Regions from separate parts of the Homo sapiens genome. Here regions 1 and 2 are each linked to region 3. The links are contacts of gene promoters, found by promoter capture Hi-C in blood cells and fetal thymus (Javierre and others, 2016). All regions are on one chromosome and are shown on one strand. The core of a region is centred on a gene start or on the middle of the fragment in contact, and the rest is flanking DNA. Distances in the headings are between cores, read along the strand shown. Region 1 overlaps CEMIP2 (cell migration inducing hyaluronidase 2). Region 2 overlaps CEMIP2 (cell migration inducing hyaluronidase 2). Region 3 holds the start of KLF9 (KLF transcription factor 9).

The links. The method cuts DNA at HindIII sites, captures the fragments that hold promoters and counts their contacts. A CHiCAGO score of 5 or more calls a contact.
Region 1: a fragment that was not itself captured here is called in contact with the fragment with the promoter of KLF9 in region 3 in 1 of 17 cell types (total CD4 T cells); the score reaches 5.1 in total CD4 T cells.
Region 2: a fragment that was not itself captured here is called in contact with the fragment with the promoter of KLF9 in region 3 in 1 of 17 cell types (naive CD4 T cells); the score reaches 5.1 in naive CD4 T cells.

Annotation. Positions count from the first base shown.
Region 1 is chr9:71,744,003-71,747,972 of GRCh38, forward strand. CEMIP2 (cell migration inducing hyaluronidase 2) reads right to left here. Exons shown (of 24, transcript NM_013390.3): 3 at 2,199-2,339; 4 at 1,016-1,577. Among named protein-coding and RNA genes, the nearest start is that of CEMIP2, 23 kb to the right of the region's middle. RefSeq lists an enhancer at 1-696. The HindIII fragment of the contact is 3,308 bases long and covers 1-3,302 here.
Region 2 is chr9:71,683,961-71,687,819 of GRCh38, forward strand. It overlaps CEMIP2 (cell migration inducing hyaluronidase 2), which reads right to left. Exons shown (of 24, transcript NM_013390.3): 23 at 1,783-1,886; 24 at 1-1,433. The coding sequence ends at 1,237. Among named protein-coding and RNA genes, the nearest start is that of CEMIP2, 83 kb to the right of the region's middle. The HindIII fragment of the contact is 969 bases long and covers 1,252-2,220 here.
Region 3 is chr9:70,413,393-70,417,515 of GRCh38, forward strand. It overlaps KLF9 (KLF transcription factor 9), which reads right to left and starts at 1,265. Exons shown (of 2, transcript NM_001206.4): 1 at 1-1,265. KLF9-DT (KLF9 divergent transcript) reads left to right here and starts at 798. Exons shown (of 4, transcript XR_001746710.3): 1 at 798-1,018. RefSeq lists enhancers at 1-599, 428-507, 848-977, a silencer at 1-137 and a promoter at 314-1,116. The HindIII fragment of the contact is 11,812 bases long and covers 1-4,123 here.

The sequences.
Region 1 (3,970 bases), core at 399-2,898, 1.3 Mb after region 3:
TGTCTTTTAAATGAAATGTTAGGTCGGCTACTTCCCCTAGACTCAGAACTGCGTTAGGAAATCACAGTTAATTAGAATATGGCACAAGAAGGCTGGGTGTGGTGGTTCATGCCTATGAAGCCGATGTTTTGGGAGGGTGAGGCAGGAGGATCACTTGAGCACAGAAGTTTAGACCAGCCTGGGCAACAAAGTGAGACCCCCTCAACTACAAAAAGTTTAAAAATTAGACAGGTGTGGTAGCAACTGTTTGTAGTCTCAGCTACTTGGGAGGCTGAGGTGGAAGTATCACTGGAGCCTGGGAGGTTGAGGCTGCAGTGAGATACGATTGTACCACTGCACTCCAGCTCGGGCAACGGGGCAAGACCCTGTCACTAAAAATAAAAATAAAAGGAATAGGGTACAAGAACCATAAATAGCAGAAATGAATTCTACTATCTGGATGAATTTCCTAGCCCTTTAACTTTTTCCTTCCTCATATATGCCAGGGGTCCATAGACCTGTGCCAATCAAACATGCAGATTCCAATCAGCCTGCAAAGGAGTCCGAAAAAAGAAAAAGAAAAAGAAAAACTGCATATTCTACCCCCTCAGCCTTTTAAGACAGGTTTAGAACTTAGCATGAAATTCTGCCCTAACCTTTAAACTCATTAAGTTGCCTCAATTAGCCTGAGTTTCATATGATCTTCAGAAGGTAACGAAAGGAAGAAGTATCTTCAGAGGCAAATTGTCCTTAAACTGCCTGACTGTTTTTCAGTACCACACTTCTGCTCTCAACTTTTCACAAGTCTGGCACTCCAGTTCACAAAGGGCTTTGTAAACCAAAGCCAATGAAAATAGCTTTTGTATGTGGTGTCCTATCCTCCAGCCCCATGTCTCAAAGCTACCAGACATGCAAATGGTAGAGTGGCCCTTCTGATGCCTGAGTCATGCTGTGGCTGTGGCTCCTTTCCCCACCCTCACTCTCCTCTCACACAGACACGGACTCTGATAGGGATCTGGGAAGAAGGTATGCCTACCTGTAGCCCAGTCCTTGGATCAGTTCACTTCCCAACCGTTCCTGGATCATCTGGATGGTTCCTTGTAAGAGACTTTTAGCGGCTGAATCCCCGACAGCTATGGCAACAATCCGACCTGGATCCTGGAATCTCAGAAACTCCTGAAGCCGCCTGCTCTCATTGCGGTATTCATGGGTATCAAATCTCTCACTTTCCAAAATTTTGGCCGTGTCTTGGTCAATGACCCTCACATTGAGGCCCCGGGAAAAGTCCTTTTCAAAGGTATAGGACCCAAAGGGCAAGCCTGAGGAATTCAGGGTCCTTGCCAACAACGTCCACGATGCCTTCCGTGCCCCATGTAACTCCAGTGTCCCGCCAGCTTCCACACCAATAAACTTTTTGCCAAATGTTGGCATACTTTCACCTTCATCTGACTTGCCATACAAGGTAATTGTCGCTTTGGATTTATAGCGGCATTTTTCTGCTCCAATATGAAGCGCCCCACCATCCTGGATCAGGATGTAATGAGTCCTCAAAGTAATATTTCTGGATCCATCTTTATTGTCCCCAAATACAAGCAGTCCTGCAGGGAACACCACCCTGTAAGCCAACTTCTAAATCATCTTTCTGAGATACAAGGAAATAGATTTCACCTTAAGTTAAATACACTTCCGCAATTAGGTCGGAAAAAAGAATTCGCTAAGAATCTGCTTAGAAAACTAAAGGGAAAAATGAAGAGTTCATATCTTAATATACTCTCAATGCCCATGACTGTGAATTTCAACCTACTCACTTTAGAGGTTAAATCATTTCTCTTAAAAATATCTAAGAGTCTACAAATCTGAATCTTATTTTTGTATATGTTTACTCATGTTAACTCTCAGAATTGTGACAAAATCACTCTCAGAATTGTGACAAAAATTTAGCTCTGAGAGATCACCTCTCTGGAACTGTTTCCTTGTCTATAAATCAGGGGTCTTGATTTGAGTGATACCTAAGGTCTAAGCTCTTAAATTCTATGTTTTTTATCTCTGGATAAATTCTCTGGTTTTATCTCATGATCTTTCCAAATCTCCATGGTTAGAGTGACACCACAAACTAAAGCCTATTCTGCCTAAAAATAGTCTTCTACATAAGGAACATCAAATATCCCCCACATTAAAGAGCAACCTTGCAGTTCCCATAGGCAGGAACCATTACCTACCTCCATCCTGAATGACTATAGAATGCACGGTGGCGTCTGAGGTCAGACGGAGCATATCTCCCTCCTTGATAACAACTTGCTTTGCAGAATCTTGTCCTGGATCCCAATTCCTGAGACGAGGATTTTGATCTGGGCAATTTTCTATAAACACATTGATATTCCATCCAACCCATTAAAATGCAGGAATAATATAGCCGAATCTAAGCACTACCATTATTTACTGCAGATCTGCAAAAAATGTGCTAACATATGTTGATTTCCTGCCATTAGAATGGAAATCCCACGCCTTCCCACCAGCAGAGAACCATCTTACCCTTTAATTTGTCATCACATTTCCATTTTAAAGTTTTACCACAAAACTAAATTGCTAGCATCTAGTTCAGGACAAACTTCACCAAAAAAAAAAAAAAAAAAAAAAAGTTTCCCTGAATCATCTACTCTGGAAATAAACCAATAGTAAGAGGCAAAATTATACATTCTCTTGGGATTCACACTAGAAAGCTGTTTTAGAAAAGAAATGTGTTCACAACATCCTGGTAAATCAAAAATGAAAATTGCTAAATAATACATTGATCAGGTCTTCACAAGTTCCTTCTTGCACACAGTGAATGATGAAGTAAGTACTGATAGCACCTCTCTCCAAGACTGAGAAACATCACTATCTTCAGCCATGTGCACTCTCCCAACAAAATGAAAGAGGCAAGTGGCTAAAGACATAACTTCTCATTTTCAGAGATGAGGAAATTACAGGTTAGAGAAACCAAAGATTACTTAGCAAGCTGAGTGATACGCAAGTTTCCCCTTTTAGAAAATGAGATTATTGACTTGTAGTGTTCCTTTACTGGAATTAGAACTTGCCTCTTGAATAGGTATTATAATAACAAAAATATAACAGTATTTAATTAAAATAGCCATAGCTATTTAATGTATGAAAACTTTAAGGTCCGCCATAATTTTGAAGAGGGGAGAAAAAAAATCACGCCTTCAATTTTGATCAACCTATGGCCAAGTATTTGTGGAGCATCAATTTATCCACTCTGTACCAGATATTTTAAAATTTATAAAGCATAGAATCAGCTCACATTTCCTCAGAGTTTATATGCAAGCTTTGGAGGGAAAAAACACCAAGTATGAAATAATGAAACACTGAACAATATGGTAGTCAGTCGAGGTTCAAAAGACCTCAGGCAAAGGAGGCATGGGGCTGGAGTAACTGAGGCAGCTTCATGAACAGGTGACTTGAGAGCTGGACACCAAAGGATGGGCAGTATTTAAATAAGAGGATCATGAGAACACTAGTAATGCAATTATCCCTTGAGATCCAAGTAGTCCATTTGGTTGTTCAGAATTCCAAGGTGGCTTTATTTAAACTCAGCTAAGGTAAGAATAAGCAAGATATGCTTGAAAAACCATAGGAAGAAATTCCTTTCATTAAGGTGGCAGGTACATGTTTAGGAATAACAAGAGAAAAAGTAGAGAGGTAGGGTGCTACACAAACATATTGTTCTATACAGAAAAAAAAATGATTCCTCATTTTGAACTTGCATAACACTAATGCAAACATCTTCCTGTTTCTGAGCTCTCACAATGCCCTAGGTTTATGCTTTCTCTTATTAACCACAGCTACAATTAGCCTCACCAGTTATATCCTTGGCAATTATTTCATGGAATTAGTTTTTCTCACAGCAGTATCATAACTGTTGATATTTAATGCTTCTGATAAGTCAATGAGTATCACTATTATACTAAAAACAATCTTTAAGCTTTTCTTC
Region 2 (3,859 bases), core at 486-2,985, 1.3 Mb after region 3:
CATCCCAGGCTGTGGAGCCAGTTGCCTCTTGCCGCATGTGATTCACCAGCAGGAGACGCATGCACCCTGTGGAAAGGGAAGCTGGGCATCACAGCATGCTTTTTAATTGGCTTTAACATTTCATTAAGTAAGAGTGACTCATTCCTGCAAGGCTTTAAAGAGGTTCATTTCTGAGTATTCTCTCCACGATTCTGACCCTAGAAAGCGCTCCTTTTTTTCCTCCCTGGGTGTAATCATTTTGGGGTATCATTAAGCTTTCTGGGATTTTCCTGGCAGGAGGGTGAACAGAAAAGCTTTAAAAAATCCACACAAAACAATAACAAAAAACCCAAGTGCAAGAGCAATACCAAGAACAGACTTCCTTTGTGCAAGTTAAAATGATACAAGTTTACGGTTCAGGAAAACAACCTACTTCTTAAAACAAAACAAAACAAAACAAAAAAGGAAATATTCAGTTGAGCTCTGCATTTTAAACACAAATATACAGTCAAAAGAGGCTAAGGATTAAAGCTGCAAAAATGGTCCCAACAGCCTCAGACTTTTGCTGCAGGAAAATTTTTTGCCCAATGGTCACAGATTAAAGGGATATCTAATCCCCAAGAGCCCTTTTGTCCCAATATACTTCCTGTTTGAAAGTTTAACCCTTACAAGTAATTGATATATAAGTGAATAAAAATAGCACATGTCCAGGCAAAAAAGGGCATGAGCTGGGCCTGAGTTGCCACTTAAAACTGTCATTCAATATCATAGAAAATCCTCAAAGGCTGCCCAGAAACAGGGCCCCAGGCACTGCTGAACATGCCAGCCACCAAGTCAACTGCCACCCGACCCAACTGAGCATTAAACTTCAAGTATCCAAGGTGCTACAATAGCTGGTCCTCTAAAGACCTCAGGCTGACTCTCAGAAGCCCCCACTCCACCCCACCCCATTATACAAAAAGTAAAAACATTGCTCATGGTCATTACAAAATACGGGGGTGGAAAGTGAGGAATAAGAGATCTGCTCTCTGAATACACCAGCCTTACAAATACAAACAACGTCTTTAACATTTTGTACAACTAGAAGGTGCATGAAGCTGGTATCCAAGCAATAATTTCAAACGCTTTCTTTTCTCCCCATTCTGTATCAAACTGGAAAATGGTTCCGTTGGGTTAACAGTGTCATTTTAAAATGCCATAAATTAAATAAGTTAGTTCACATTTTTTTTCCCCCAGCACTTAAGTTACAGTTAGTCTCTAATGTGCTTTTGAAGCTTGCTTTAGCAGTTCCAGGTCTCTTCTGCGGACAGTGGTGGCTCTGGGACAACCATATTCGTCCAGCTGCAAAGGTATGAATTGTTCAAGCACCCCAAGGCCCTGTCCAGCAGGACTGGTAAATAGCTTAGTCCATGATGGTTTAAAGTTTCCACTGAATCCCAAAAATATGGTACTCCCTAAAAAAAAAAAAAAAAAAGAAAAAGAAAAAAAATCAATTTTTATAGCTACATTCCAGCAAGAGAATATAGGAGGTGAGTCGGAGGTGAGCAAAACAAAGGCAGCTATTAAAAAACTCTGCACTTCCTTACATCAGCAAATGAACTCTCACCACCCACCTTTTGCCCCAGATAACAAACCACATCCCAACACACTTCCTCTCACATTGTGCCCTTATTTAGAAATCATCTTAATGATACCCACTCCAGCAAACAAGCTCATGAAAATGGTCTGGTAGCTGAATTGCACCATAAAATTACCTATGTTGCTGGCCCTGTAAGAACTTCATGAAATAATACAAATACAAACCTTTGTCATAAAGATGAGCTGGTTTGGCTAATCCCAGAGGTACTAGTAAGTGTGAAATGTTTAACTGCTTTATTTCTCCTCTTGTGCTCAACAGAACAATGGACCTGTATGTGAAATTTAGAAAGTCAGAGCCAATTTCAATCCTTCAGCATGAGTATCTTTCTACTGAGTATCTTTCTGAACTGACTGCTGAATAGAAATATTAGATAAAAGCAGAACTCCAAAAAGAAAAAAGTCTAGATGATTTTCCATCCAATTCCCACTCTTCCACCCCACCACCATGGGCTTCACACGTTGCTCTTACAAGGGGTAACGCATACATAAACCAAATCATTTACGTACGTTCACCTAGTGCAGGGCTTCCCAACCCCTGGGCCATGGATGGGTACCAGTAGATTAGGAACCAAGTTGCACAGCAGGAGGTGAGCAGGCGAGCGAAGCTTCATCTGTATTTACAGCCACCCCACAACACTTGCATTACAGCCTGAGCTCCGCCTCCTGTCAGGTCAGCTGTGGCATTCAACTCTCATAGGAGCAGAACCCTATTGGGAACTGCACATGTGAGGGATCTAGGTTGTGTGCTCCTGAGAATCTAATGCCCAATGATCTGTTGATCATCACCCCCAGATGGGACCATCTAGTTGCAGGAAAACAAGCTCAGGGCTCCCACTGACTTTACATTATGGTGAGCTGTGTAATTATTTCATTATATATTGCAATGTAATAATAATAGAAAAAAAGTGCACAGTAAATGTAATGTGCTTCAATCATCCTGAAACCATCCCCCTTCACCTCCAGTCCATGGAAAAATTATCTTCCATGAAACCAGTCCCTGATGTCAAAAAGGCTGGGGACTGCTGACCTAGTGGATGGTCTGGGGCACAGCTCTTTTAGGGAATAGTCTATTGTTGTTGTTGTTGTTTATAATTTGTATAAATTTGTGAGGCACAAGTGCAATTTCATTACATACATAGGATTGCATAGTGGTGAAGTCAGGGCACTTAGGGTATCCATCACCCAAATAATGTACACTGTGCCTATTCAGTAATTTCCTGTCATCCACCCCTCACCCTTCCTTCTCCATTGTCTATCAGGGAGTAAGTCTACTGTAACATGGGAGAATGGTTTTGTTTTGTTTCAAATACTCTATTTATTTAAGTTCTATTATCTATTTATTAAATAAATGGATAAACACAATTCTAAAAATAAATAAACGACTAAATGTGTTTTCCATGGTTTGAATTACCATTTTTGTCACATAGTAAGCCAACATACATACTTGGACCTATCTGTGGATTCTCCGTTCTTCTCTGATCTTGCTCTTCTCTGCCAAAACTATGCTGGCCTATGGCTTCACGGTCCATTTTAATATTTGATAAAAACAAGCCCTTGTATTACTGTAATTTGTTTATATTTTACTACTTTCTCATTTATTCTTCCAGATGAACTACAGTATCAACTGTCAAGTACAGTAGAAAAGTACCTTTTGGGACACTAATGGAAATGTGTCAAATTTATATTTTAACTAAGTAAATGTAATGCACTTGAATCATCCTGAAACCATCCCCCTCCACCTCCAGTCCATGGAAAAATTATCTTCCATGAAACTGGTCCATGAAATTAACATTTATTAATTTTCCATTCAGAAACAGAGTCTCTCCTTTTATTCAACTTCTGTTGCATATCCTTTAGCAATATATTTAATAATGTATTTATTTTCTGTGTGTGTGTGTGTGTGTGTGTGTGTGTGTGTACACATACAAACTCACTCTTTCAAAAACTTTAATCAGAAATGTTCTTGGCCAGCCGGGTGCAGTGGCTCATGCCTTTAATTTCAGCACTTTGGAAGGCTGAGATGAGAGGATCATTTGAGCCCAGGAGTTCAAGACCAGCCTGGGAAACACAGCAAAACTCCATCTCCACAAAAAATTAGAAAAATAATAAAATTAAAAACAAAAACAAAAACAAAAAATAACCAGCCAGGCTGGTGGTGTGCACGTGTAGTCCCAGCTACTTGGAAGGCTGAAGTAGGAGGGTCACTTGAGCCTGAGAGGTCAAGACTACATTGAGCTGTGGA
Region 3 (4,123 bases), core at 15-2,514:
GGACAAACTTGGCGGTGGCTGCGGAGGTTCGGCTCGCCCTGCCCTGGCCTCGGACGACGAGCGCGGCGCGGCGCGGCACGGCGCGGCGGCCAAGGGGGCGGGGGCGCGGGGCGCTTCCGACTCGCAGGAGCGCCGAGGCGACCTCAGCCCCTCATCTTTACGTAACCGGCAGCGCCTCCGCACGCAGCATCCACGGCCCCGGGCTCCGCCGCGCCGCCGCCTCTAGCCGCCGCCCCTGCCCCGCGCCGGCCGCGATCCCCCGACGGGCGCGCCGGCCCCTCTGAGCCGGCTCCCTTGGAAAGATGCCACACGTGGCGGTCGCAAGTTTATTCGACTGAAAACGCCCCCGAGGCGCTGGGAGAGGAAACTGCAAGAGAGGTGCACGCCCTCGGCCGCCTCGCCGTCGAGCCAAAGCCCCAGGACATTCACCCGATCACCCCGACGCGGGTGGCGAGGGTCCCGCCGAGCGCCAGGTCTAAGAGACACTTTTTCCCGAGTCCACTGACGGCTTCTGAACCCCTGCTCCGGCCGGTCCGCACCGTTCCGGCATTCTCTTGCTCAGTAACAATTTCGCAGAATCCCATCACGTCACAAACCAAACCCCCTCCAATTGGCCAGTGGGGAGGGTGATTCAACTCTGTTTACTTTCTCCCCCTGCCAGTCAGAACGGCCTTCGGTGGAGAGGTGCGTCTAGAACTGAGGCGTGCGGCCAATCCGACTGTTCCGTTTCGCTGCCTCGTGCTACCCCTACAGCCTCGAACACTGACATTTAAAAGGGTAACAGCTGGGAGGCAGGGAAGGGGCAGCCGCACACTTTCGGAGTGCCTCGCGGTCCCGTGGCCGGTCCGGGCCTCCTGGCTCACGTTCCAGCTTGCGGAGCTTTGGGACACATCTTTCCTAGTCAGTTGCGCTCGTTCCTATGGCAAAAGAGAACTTCAGCTTCGGTTTTCCAGCTCCCAAACAGTTAAGTGACTTCCTGCAAACGCTACAGTCCCAGCAACCAGCCTTCCAATCAAAAGTAAGTTGGTTGATGTCACTGGCATTGGCTCGGCCAATCACAAGGGCGTTCCGAAAGCAAGCGCTCGACACTTGTAAACGCGAAGAGCTGTAGTGAAACTGGACACATCTTTGTATTTTGTGTTGCTGGTAGTAAATTTGAGTTATGGATGAGAGGACAGGGGTGATGAATAAATGCAGTGTGAATCTATAATTAAAAAAACCCCATTATGTCAGGATAAGTCCAAGAATAAACACAAATGAGTAAGAATTCGTTTTGTTATATATTTTTTGGATGCAGCATACTTTGGGGCAGATGTTTAAAAATTCTTCCATCCAATACATTAACTATGACCAATTCATCTTAAAAATGCAGTGCTAACAAAAGTTCTGGTTTTACAGCATAGCCTTTTTACTGCCTGAGATTCTTCCATTGAAACATCCCATCTTTGCTTGTCATATCTCTTAATTCCTCTACTTCTCTGGTGCAATTTAGTCTAAATAAATTCTTTTAGCTTTATTTGGAGGCTATTTTTAACCCACTTTCAGAAAAACGGAGACAAAAACCATTCATTTGTGTAACTTTTATAAAAAACCCACCATTCTTAGCTCTTTTTCTTTCCAGAGCCCCTGCATGGTTTTTAGGACATGTTTCTCTTCCCTCACTTCACAAATGTGGAAACTGAGTTACAGAGAAGTGACTTATTTATCTTATTAGACAGATAATGATAGAACTCAATAGAAACCACAAGTCTCCTGATTTCTAGCTCTTTGTGCTTGCAACTAAGCCCTTTTGGTTTTGTGAAATATTAACTGTGCAGAACAGATTTTTAGGGACTGGAACAAGCTGGAAATCCTTAGCCATGGAATACTGTGGCATTACTTGGTCAACAATTAGTATGGGTCTTGGAGTCTGATTAACTTGGTTTACCCCTCCGTCTGAATTAACGATGTGGTTGTTTTCCATCTTGATAGCTAGAAAAGAATCTAGGGCTAGTTCTTTTTGCAAGAGGCATACTGTCAGCACAATTCATTAAAAATAATTCACTTTCGTGAATGTGAGAGGTACCTGATTCTATGTGATGCAGATTCGGTGAGTTCCAACCCTGACCCCCCACTGGCTATTAACCTTTGTTAAGAGAAAGTTACACCAGGTTCTGGTCTCCGAGGCAAGGGTCTCAAATTGACTCTACCAATGTGAGATCTACAGTAGTTTCTTTTGACTTTGTTTTTAAAGTGGTACATCAAAAATAATAATAATAAAAAAAAAGTTAGCCAGGCGTGGTGGCTCGCACCTGTAGTCCCAGCTACTCAGGAGGCTGAGGCTGAAGGACTGCGTCAGCCTAGGTCAAGGCTGCAGTGAGCCCTGATTACACCACTGTACTACTCCAGCCTGGGCAACAGAGCAAGGCCCTGTTTTTTTTGTTTTTTTTTAAATCATAACTAAGGGTGGCTCAGGTAAGTAAGAGTATAATAGATTTTAATTAAAAAATAACAAACCTGACAAGACCAGTTCAATAAAAGTGTACAGCTTAAAAAAATAAAGAAAACAACAACAAAAATATTAAAGTGGTACAGGGAAGATATTGCAGTAGGTGACTGCAGGTGGAAGAAAGGTGTAGATAGGGGATACTGGGCAACCAAGAATATCATCACCATCAGCATCATTATCACCGACCCCTTTCATGGAGGGCTTACTCTGTGTCAGGCCCTGTACCAAGCACCCTGCATGCATCCCTGTAAGGTAGGTATACAGTGTATAAAAAACTCCAAGCCATCTTGGAGTTCTTGCATTTTTAGAACTTAATCTCTTAATTTTAGAAAAGAATTCACTGAAGCCCAGGGGAGTTTGCCTACTTCATGATTTTTCTGGGACAAATTTTGTCCCCTAGGATACACGATCACTTAGAAATTGCACCTTTGCCTGCCTCAAGGCCCAGTGCATATACCAGCGGGATCTCTCCAGGATCTCTATGATCATGGCCTGTACAACCCCTCAGACTTGCATTTTAACTGGGATTGTACTGGTGAAACAGACTGCTCGGGCCTGGACATCTATAGACAGCCCTAGGACCACCATCATCATTATTCCAGAATAGAGGAAAAGTCTGTATCTTTCCTTGAAGATTATATAATCCAGGAATTTGAATACATCAGTCACTTTAGGTTTTTTAAAAATATAAACTTTTCCCTTCCTTACTCCTTGCCAGCTTTTCTTTAATTCCCTTTAATTTCACTTTGTTTGAACTGGACATAAACACTGAATTCTCCAAACTCACTCATTTCAGAGTTACAAAAGAAAGTAATGAAAGAAAACTGAGATTTCATCTACATGAATTTCTCACACATTTACAAACATAACTGCTGCTTGACTTGATTTAGAATATCTTTTTAAACCCAGCAATTCTAGAACTGTAGAATGCTTTCTCTTTTTTCTCCTTTTCCACTCATTCATTCTCCAGATATTTATGTTCCTGGCAATGAGCTAGGCATGGGGGAATACAGAAATGAAAAGAGACTCTGTCCTCCATGAAGTTTATATGTTAAAAACGTATATATAAAATAACATATCAGCAAATAATTATTTCTATGTCAGGATTTTTTTCTTCTATTTTCAACAGTGAAGTTTCCTTGGGGGTGTTGGAATGCGTATTATAATAGTTTTATGATTAAAACCGGCTTGGGCTGTTTTGCCAGCATGTGGTTGTCCCAATTAAATGTTGGCAAAATAAATGATCCCAAATTAATATGAATCATTCCTAATTAAAATAATTTATCACTAAAGTATATATTATGCCACATAAATGTAAGAGGGCTGTTTTCCCCCAAGTTAGTCTTTGTAAATACACATTTTCAAAATCCAAACAAACCAACCGGAAGGAGCATGAAAATTCAGACTGTAAGTGTGCTTCTAGTTTATGCTTTCCTCTCTAAATTCTGCCTAAGAATTTGCTTTATTATCAAAGTTCTCAAAACAATGGCTTATGGGCCTGTAGCCAGAACATATCAGCCTTGTTTTCTGTGCATCCTAAAATAATTACAGTATTATCATTATTAGCTCTAATAAGAAGTAGTGCCTACAGTCAGCTGTTTCAGCGTTGTAGACCACTGTGAGGAGCTGGCCTTT